3 separate regions of the Homo sapiens genome follow, and regions 1 and 3 are each linked to region 2. Evidence: promoter capture Hi-C in 16 types of primary human blood cells and fetal thymus (Javierre and others, 2016). All regions are on one chromosome and are shown on one strand. The core of a region is centred on a gene start or on the middle of the fragment in contact, and the rest is flanking DNA. Distances in the headings are between cores, read along the strand shown. Region 1 overlaps ENTHD1 (ENTH domain containing 1). Region 2 holds the start of FAM83F (family with sequence similarity 83 member F). Region 3 overlaps ENTHD1 (ENTH domain containing 1).

Region 1 (2,700 bases), core at 201-2,700, 230 kb after region 2:
GGGTAGAAATGGAATGACTTCTGTCTGGTTTGCTTCATTGAATTTTAAGGATTTGTTCATTTGTTTCATTTTAAACTTTTTTACTAAACCTTAAAATGGCAGCCATACAGACAACTTTATGCATCTGAATTTTGAGATTTAGATTAAGTATTGTGAATATTTTCATCAGAAAGTTCTGGTCATTCTGAAATGTCCTAGTTTAATATTGCTAAATTTTAAGATGATCTTATTACATATAGAGCAAAACATTTTTGTCTTGTTTTTCTCACATGTAAAATGAAAGTCAATGGAAAAATATTTAACTAAAATTCACTTTTAATGAATGATTTGATGTAAATGTGGTGATATGCAAAGTCACTTTGAAATACCATAAATCTAGTAATCTAGTACTCAACTAGGAATATATTCGTTTGGGTGTTTTGTTTTGTTTTGTTTTGTTTTTCATAGAAATGGGGTCTCACAATGTTGCCCAGGCTGGTCTCAAACTCCTGGGCTCAAGTGATTTTCCCACCTCAGCCTCCCAGTAGCTGGGACTACAGGCACTGCGCCTGGCTTATATTTGGTATTTTTAACAGACTTTCAATCATCTAAATATAATTCAGTCATATGCAAATTAGGAATATTTTAGGAGAGGTTCTTTTCATCTACCTATTTCCTTTAATCATTATTAAGCAGTTAAACTATATTCAGTTTAGAAAAATGAAGGCGTTACTTTTTCTTTCATCTTTGTGCTTCAGTTTCCCTTGCACCCAATGAGCATTCATTGAACCTGTCCTCTGGGAATGGCACTGTTAGGTGCTGAGACACGAAGATGACTCCTTGCAAGGTCTCCTCAAGGAGACTTTTGTCAGGTAGGGGACAAGATAAATGAGATATGAAGTGTTATAATTACTCACAGAGCTTCAAACAGGACATGTGAAGATAGACAATAATAGGATAGGGTGAGGAAAGAAAAGGGTCAGGGCAAGCTTTAAAGAGAAAGTGATACTTGAATTGAGTTTTAAAAGATGAGAGGATGGAAGAAAAATGGAATTTCTGGTGAAGATAGCAATGTAAGTTTCTTGAACTGTCTTAATTCTGTGGTACATACCAGCAGTATTTTTGCTAAGGCTAACCTCCAACTGCAGATGAAAATGAAAAGGAAGCTTTATAGAGACAAAGAAAAGTTTCTTTTCTTTAATAACTCAGAGCCCAAAAGTGATGAGGATAGCATGTAAATGTGCATTCTGAAGTATTTTATGACATACATTGTGATGTATAATCACTCAATAGTGAATCACACAATTTCTGCGTCCTCTTTTGGGAGCTTCGAAAGATAGCCTCTTCCTTTGGCCCTCTTCTACCTCATCATGCTTCTCGTTTCATGAACACAACCTCATAAAAATAACGGTCTTTCTTTTCGTATCCCGGTTCAGATGGAGCTGTTACAGAGCAAGCCCTGGCGCTGAGGGTGTTCCTAAGAATTTGCATCTAGAAACTCGGACCAGGTCTATAATGCGTAGATTCAATAGACATTCCTGGATCAGGCCCACCTTCAGTTTCAGTTTCTTACAATTCCTTCAGTGTTTTCTATTTGTAATAAATATTGTTTGTTATATTCTAGGGACTATTTTATGTACTTTGGTGATATTAACCACTAGAATGGACAAAGATCTCCAGCCCAGTGGAACTTATATTTTACTAATTGTCAGAACAGCTCTGAAAGATTGTTTCCTTTCTTCCGTATAGACAAAGCATTTATTAAAATTAAGCTTCTACCTAAAGTACTGAGTTTCTTTAATGTGCCTTGCATATAGAAACTGTGTGGAAGAAGACATTCTTTATTTTTGGGGAGAAAGCTTTTCTTTTTCTTTCTTTTTTTTTTTTTTTTTTTTTTTTTTTTTTGTAGCTGAGGGTTCTGTAAGGATAGACCAGTATGATGTGGCATATTTTCCCTAGTTTATCTTGTAAAAAAGATGAAAGTTGGAAAGTACTAAAAATATGGTGGTTTCAGCGACAGATAAGTGGGTGAAGGGAGAAATATTTAAAGACAAGTTATTTGAAGCTTTCCTTGCTTTGTGCTTCAGTGAGGAGAGAGGGAGAAGGCAGCTACCAAAATGACTAAGGCGTCAATTATAGCTTGGGTGTACTTTAAATAGGCAGAATATAGAAGCATAGTAAGAAAGCAGAGGGCTAAATAGGAAAGAATTCTGTTATGACATTAAAAAATCCTATTTATTAAAATTATAACAGATTTGAAATAGAGTATTTTCAGTTTTATTTTTTGATTATAGCTCTTATTTGTTCTTTTATAGATGCTGTGCCTACTCTCTCAGAAAATAGTCCTTCTGGGCAGAGAGATGTGAGTTTGGACAAGAGATCAGATGGTATCTTTACAAATACTGTCACAGAAAACCTCTTGGAAACACCTTTAGAAAAGCAATCAGCTGCAGAAGGTCTTAAAACATTGACAATTTTACCAGCATGTTGGTCAAGTAAAGAGGAGTTTATCAGCCCCGACTTAAGGGTATCAAAGTCAGATTCTACTTTCCATAACCAGGCCTCTGTAGAAACACTCTGTCTCTCTCCCTCATTCAAAATATTTGACCGAGTGAAGGAGATTGTAATCAACAAGGCCTACCAGAAACCAGCACAATCCAGCATTCAGATGGATGATAAAATCCTCAAGACAACCACACGGGGTGAGTCTGCCAAACACAC
Region 2 (2,700 bases), core at 22-2,521:
TCTCAAGCAGGACACATATGCTAAGTAGGAGCCCTTTCCTGAGCTGCCGAGTCAGGTGACCTGCTGTGCCAAGGCGCCCAGCACAGGGCCAGGCACACAGTAGGTCCTCAATATACCCCGTCCCCCATTCATTCCAGGCAGCTGGGGCCTAGTACCCGGCCCAGGAGAGGCTGTGACTGTGAGGGCGCCAGCTCAGCTTTGACTATGGGAGGAGAGGGGTGGTCCAAGGAGCAGCATGGCAGAGGTGGGACCGGGAAGGTCACCGCCACCCACTCCCTGAAGTTGTTTTGACGATCACATGAGAAAGCGGCTCGGGATATGTTCTGGGCAGCACGTAGGTTATCATCAAGACCTTTGAGTGGTGCATTTTAACCACAGGGCCTCGGCCCCCAGTCTTCCCTGGGGAGGAAGGCTGGACAGGGAAGTTTCAGAAGTACAGAGCAGAGCCAGTGCCTCTGAACGCTGGAATACCGACGGCTGACATCTGTCCAGCACCTTGTAATTTGCCAAACACGTTCCCAGCCATTCGCTCTACAGGCCTCACTGCAGCCCCAGGAAGTAGGGGCGGGTTGGGGCCCATTTTCCAGAGGGTGCTCAGGGCGGCCTGCCCCGGGCCCTGCCTGGGAGGTGGGGCCCGGTCCAGGGGACTGGGGCCGAGGTCCCAGCGGTGTGGGGGCGAAGGCGGGGGCCTACCTTCTGGGCCTGTTGGATCATCTGCCTGACCACCTGCTTGAGGTGCGGCGCCTTCTCGTCCTTGGGCGGGTGGGTGAAGAGCGTGACCCGGCTCACGCCGCGGTAGAAACCAGTGTCCGTCCAGCCCAGGTCCAGAGGAGGCACCTCGGTGTCGGAACGGTCGGGCCAGTAGGCCAGGGACTCGCCGGACTCAGCCGGCGCCGGCGCGGGGGCCTTGGCCTTGGCCTTGCTCTTGCCCCGGGCGTTGGCGGCGGGGACGGCGTCCTCGTAGGGGCTCCAGGCGGCCCGCAGGGCCTGGCGCTCCGGGCTGGAGAGGAAGTCCCGCAGCTGCTCCTCCTTGAGCCGCTCGCGGTAGGCCTGCTCGCCGCCGCCCAGCAGCGCCTCCAGCGCGGCCCGCCGCCGCTCGCAGTAGTAGAAGGCGGCCTGCGCCTCGGTCACCTTCTCGTTCACGTGCGCCTCGTCCAGGCAGTTCAGCTGGGACTCGGCCATGGCGCCCCGGCCCCGGCCCCGGCCCTGGCCCCGGCCCCGCCGCGGTCCGAGGTCCCACAGCCGCACCTGGAGCCGCCGAGGGGCGGGGCGCCTCACCTGGCCGCGAGCTCTGCCCCGGCCCGTCCCGCCCCGCCCCGCCGTCGGGGAGCGGCCAATCCGCGCGGGCGTGGCCGTCGGGCGGGGAGGGGCCGCCGCCTCCGCCGGGCTCGCCGGGACCTCCGGGCGGCCTGGCGGACGCGGTCGGGCCCGGGCCTGCAGGGCCCACCAGCCGGGGCTAGAGTCCCTGAGGGGACGCCCCCAGGGGGCGGGGCCGTCGCAGACCCACGTGCGGGCTCCGGCCCCGACTCCTCCGCGGGGTAAAGGTTCGCTGTCCGGCCCTCGCTGCCATCCGCCCCCGCCGGCCGCGTCGCGGGTACGAGTTCATTTTCCGCGCACGTGGAGTCCGGAGCACGTGTTCTGGCCCAGTGGCCTCTGGGGCCGCCGAGCTGACCCCTTCCCCGTCGAGGGTCCGGTGTTGGTGGGGGGGCCTGCTGCAGGACGGGATTGTGACGGCTGAGGAGCGGGCAGGGGGTGTGCAAAAGCGAAATGCTAATGAGAGCTCGAGCTCCCCACCCTTGCGTCCCAGTTCTGAGATCAGAGCCCTTCTGGGCTGGGAGTCCAACACCTTCACTGTAAAACTTTCTTTTAAAAAATAGCTATCCAAACAGAAATGATGTAAAGAGCAGCAGTGGAATTCCCCCCGCCCCCACCTTAATTTGAAGTAGGGTGTGTGGTGTCTCTCCGTGTGTGTTTGGGCAAGATAGGCTGCCAGAGACATGATTACTATATTAGTGATTCAAAATGTATGTTTGAGCTCAAGGAAGGAAACCGCACGTGCGTGCACACCACACACACGCACACACACAGCAGCGGTGGCAGCAGCTCTGCTGTTTCCCATCGGATTAAATACAATCGTCTTAGTCATTAACATATTATGTTGTTCATGCACTGCTCTACAATTTGATTCTCCACATTCAAAATATTTTCAGATCATAACAACTAAAGGTTCACATTTCTCTCACTTTATAGCGCAGCATCTCAGAGCTGGAAGGAGCTTTTCAAGCTCCTCCAACCCCCTCATTTTACAGTTGAAGAAATTGAGGCCTAGCAACGTGTGCGTTGCCCAGGTCTCCCGTGAAAGAGGCAGAGCACGGGGACTGCAAGGTTTTCTGTCTTGGAGGTCTTTCGCTGACATCACGGCCGCCTTTACCCTTTCTCCTTTTCTTGTGAAACGACAGGTTATTGGGGACCTGGTTTTCACCCCAGGGGATTTGAAAAGGTCACTTACCATTTCTAGGCCTTCCTTTCATGCTCTGGAAAAAATGAGAGTTAGATTTTCAAATGTCTGCACATTATTGTTATTATTATTTTTTTTTTTACAATAATCAGTTCTGGCATCCTGTGTCAGCCCAAAGATTGGGAGTGGTGAGCAGCAAGGTGTCCATCACCTCACTTGTCCTTTACCCCTCTTGGGAACTG
Region 3 (2,700 bases), core at 108-2,607, 250 kb after region 2:
GGAACACAGTGTTTCTCAGAAAAGTTTGGGAAATGATTTAGAATAAAGTGTGGGAGATTTAATATGATTTTGCCAGAAAGGAAGTAAAAACTTTCCCAAATATGTAATTTTATGGAAAAAAAGGCTTAGAATGCTTTTTACTTCACTTAGTTTCTTGGTGAGAAAAAAAATGATTATATACGTGTGCTAAAGTATTCTAGATTTCAGATGTGTTGGACTTCAGTCTTGATTATATTTCACTATAGACAGAAAAATATTTATTTCACTAACTTTTGGGTACTTGTAGTTGGTAGTTCATTTTGCCATAATAATCTCTACAGGAAAAAAAATTAAAAAGTTGAAGGAATCTGTTACAGGTTTCTCACTTTCTACTTTAAATACCAACTTAAAATGCTGGCAGTCAGTAGAATGGGGTTTAATACTTTTCTACTCTCTCTGATTAAGTTTAGTGTAAAAATATGTTGGGCAGGGTTTGAGTCAAGATGAGTCAAGATGAATATTGATAATTCTATTTTAGTTTCATTTCCATGGTATTATTGATATATAATACATCTGTAGATTTTCTTAGTTTCCTGCTTTGGGTTTTTTTAAGCTTATTATGAATAGTTAACATTTAAAATTCTAAGCAGTTTATTTATGTTGAGCCCTTCCAGATAGGCTTTTACATTATAAAATTATTTTAGCTATTACTCTCATTTGTATGTTGCATAAATCTTTTTTCTCTCATTTACACATTTTAGTTTCAACTGCTTCTGAGGGAGCATCTTCCTTTTCTCCTTTATCCATGTCATCTCCTGATTTAGCCTCTCCAGAGAAGTCAGCTCATCTCTTATCACCAATTCTGGCCGGACCTTCCTTCTGGACTCTGTCCCATCAACAGTTGTCTTCTACCTCCTTTAAAGATGAAGATAAGACAGCCAAGCTGCATCACTCCTTTGCTTCTAGGGGCCCAGTGTCTTCTGATGTAGAGGAAAATGATAGCCTCAATCTACTGGGAATTCTTCCAAATAACTCTGATTCTGCTAAAAAGAATATAAGTCACATTTCTAGTAGTCACTGGGGGGAGTTTTCCACCCAAAATGTAGACCAGTTCATCCCTCTGTCCTGTTCTGGTTTTCAGTCAACCAAAGACTTCCCCCAGGAACCTGAAGCAAAGAATTCCATTAGTGTTCTTTTAAGGGAGGTAAAACGTGCGATCGCTAGATTACATGAAGATCTGAGCACAGTGATCCAAGAACTTAATGTCATCAATAACATCTTGATGAGCATGAGTCTGAATAGTTCACAAATAAGCCAGTCTTCCCAGGTCCCCCAGTCTTCTGAGGGGAGCTCAGATCAGATCTAATCATCACAATATCTATTTTTGATAGAACTCGTGTGGTTCCACTTCCCCAAGACTTACGTTAGCATTGTATAAATTCATATTATTATGGCAAAAAAGGGGATGGTTTAATTTTTCCTTGTCAGGTTTATTAGCAAGTATCTTTCAAACTAATACTTTCATTTGGGTGGTTTATTTTTTAAAAGGGAAAGATGTCACCTTTGATAATTTCAGATTTAGATATTAGTTCATTTGAAACAGAAGAGAATTTCATTCTTTCATGCTCTGTACCTCAAATGGGTTAAGCATTAGTGAAAATTGTGGTAAGACCTCAAACTGCAAATGACTATTCAAGAGCTTTTGGATAAGGAGGCAGGAAGAAGCTCTTTATCTTTCAACTGTATGGAGCTTGTTAACAAGCCTCTGAGGTGACCTAGGAGGATTGAGTTTGGGGGTATACATTTCACACATTCTTTTGCAAGTTTTAGGTTCTGCAACCAAGGGCCAGAAATCTTTTCTTTCTTCCAGATGCTAGTGTTAGGAGTTAAATGGAAACAAGAAGGACATGGGGCAAATGTTTTTACTGTCAATGTATATTGCAAGGTGAATTCAAATGCATCCTTTTATTCTACTTCAGAAAATAAATTTGATATTTTTCATCTTCTGTGTATCTTTTTAATTCATTAAGACAGCCTTTCAAATAGAAATGTCTGTTATTTATGGGCAAAACAGTCCGGTTTGGGGATTACAGGCCAGTGATTCCCAACCCTGCTGCACACTGGAATCACCACAGAAGCTTTTCTTTTGTTTTATATTTGTCTGAGAGAATCGTGTAATGGGCTCCATGTGCCCATCACTCAGTTTCAACAATTACCAACTCGAGGCTAAAATAATCCTGATTATTTTGAAGACATACGAAACATTTTAAAAATATACTAATGCCAGGGTCCTGCTCCCAGACAAATTGAAACTGGTTTTCATCATGCAGACTGGATTAAGTGATAAAGGAATTGTCAGTGAAAAGACCTTAAAGCTGGAGGAATTTGGCGTGGTTGAAGAATGGCAAGAAAGCTGGTGTGGCTGGAGTGAAGTGAGCAAAGGGGAGAGTAGACGGAGTTCAAGGTCATGGAGCAAAGATGACAGATGACATAGGTTCTTAAAAACCACTGTTAGAGAGACCTGGTGTGGCAGCTTACATCTGTAATCCCAGCACTTTGGGAGGCCGAGGCAGGTGGATCACGAGGTCAGGAGTTCAAGACCAGCCTGGGCAAGATGGTGAAATCCCGTCTCTACTAAAAATACAAAAAAAAATTAGCCGGGCATGGTGGCGGGCACCTGTAATCCCAGCTACTCGGGAGGCTGAGGCAGAGAATCGCTTG

The links. The method cuts DNA at HindIII sites, captures the fragments that hold promoters and counts their contacts. A CHiCAGO score of 5 or more calls a contact.
Region 1: a contact is called between a fragment that was not itself captured here and the fragment with the promoter of FAM83F in region 2, in 1 of 17 cell types (M0 macrophages). The highest score is 5.2, in M0 macrophages.
Region 3: a fragment that was not itself captured here is called in contact with the fragment with the promoter of FAM83F in region 2 in 3 of 17 cell types (M0 macrophages, M1 macrophages and M2 macrophages); the score reaches 7.1 in M0 macrophages.

Annotation. Positions count from the first base shown.
Region 1 is chr22:39,765,204-39,767,903 of GRCh38, reverse strand. It overlaps ENTHD1 (ENTH domain containing 1), which reads left to right. Exons shown (of 7, transcript NM_152512.4): 6 at 2,295-2,681. Among named protein-coding and RNA genes, the nearest start is that of ENTHD1, 130 kb to the left of the region's middle. The HindIII fragment of the contact is 606 bases long and covers 1,148-1,753 here.
Region 2 is chr22:39,993,525-39,996,224 of GRCh38, reverse strand. FAM83F (family with sequence similarity 83 member F) reads right to left here and starts at 1,271. Exons shown (of 5, transcript NM_138435.4): 1 at 694-1,271. The coding sequence starts at 1,182. It overlaps LOC124905155, which reads right to left. Exons shown (of 2, transcript XM_047441700.1): 2 at 1,457-1,877. The coding sequence ends at 1,457. RefSeq lists a silencer at 1,229-1,348 and an enhancer at 923-1,556. The HindIII fragment of the contact is 8,768 bases long and covers 1-2,700 here.
Region 3 is chr22:39,742,324-39,745,023 of GRCh38, reverse strand. It overlaps ENTHD1 (ENTH domain containing 1), which reads left to right. Exons shown (of 7, transcript NM_152512.4): 7 at 741-1,980. The coding sequence ends at 1,345. Among named protein-coding and RNA genes, the nearest start is that of ENTHD1, 150 kb to the left of the region's middle. The HindIII fragment of the contact is 1,525 bases long and covers 595-2,119 here.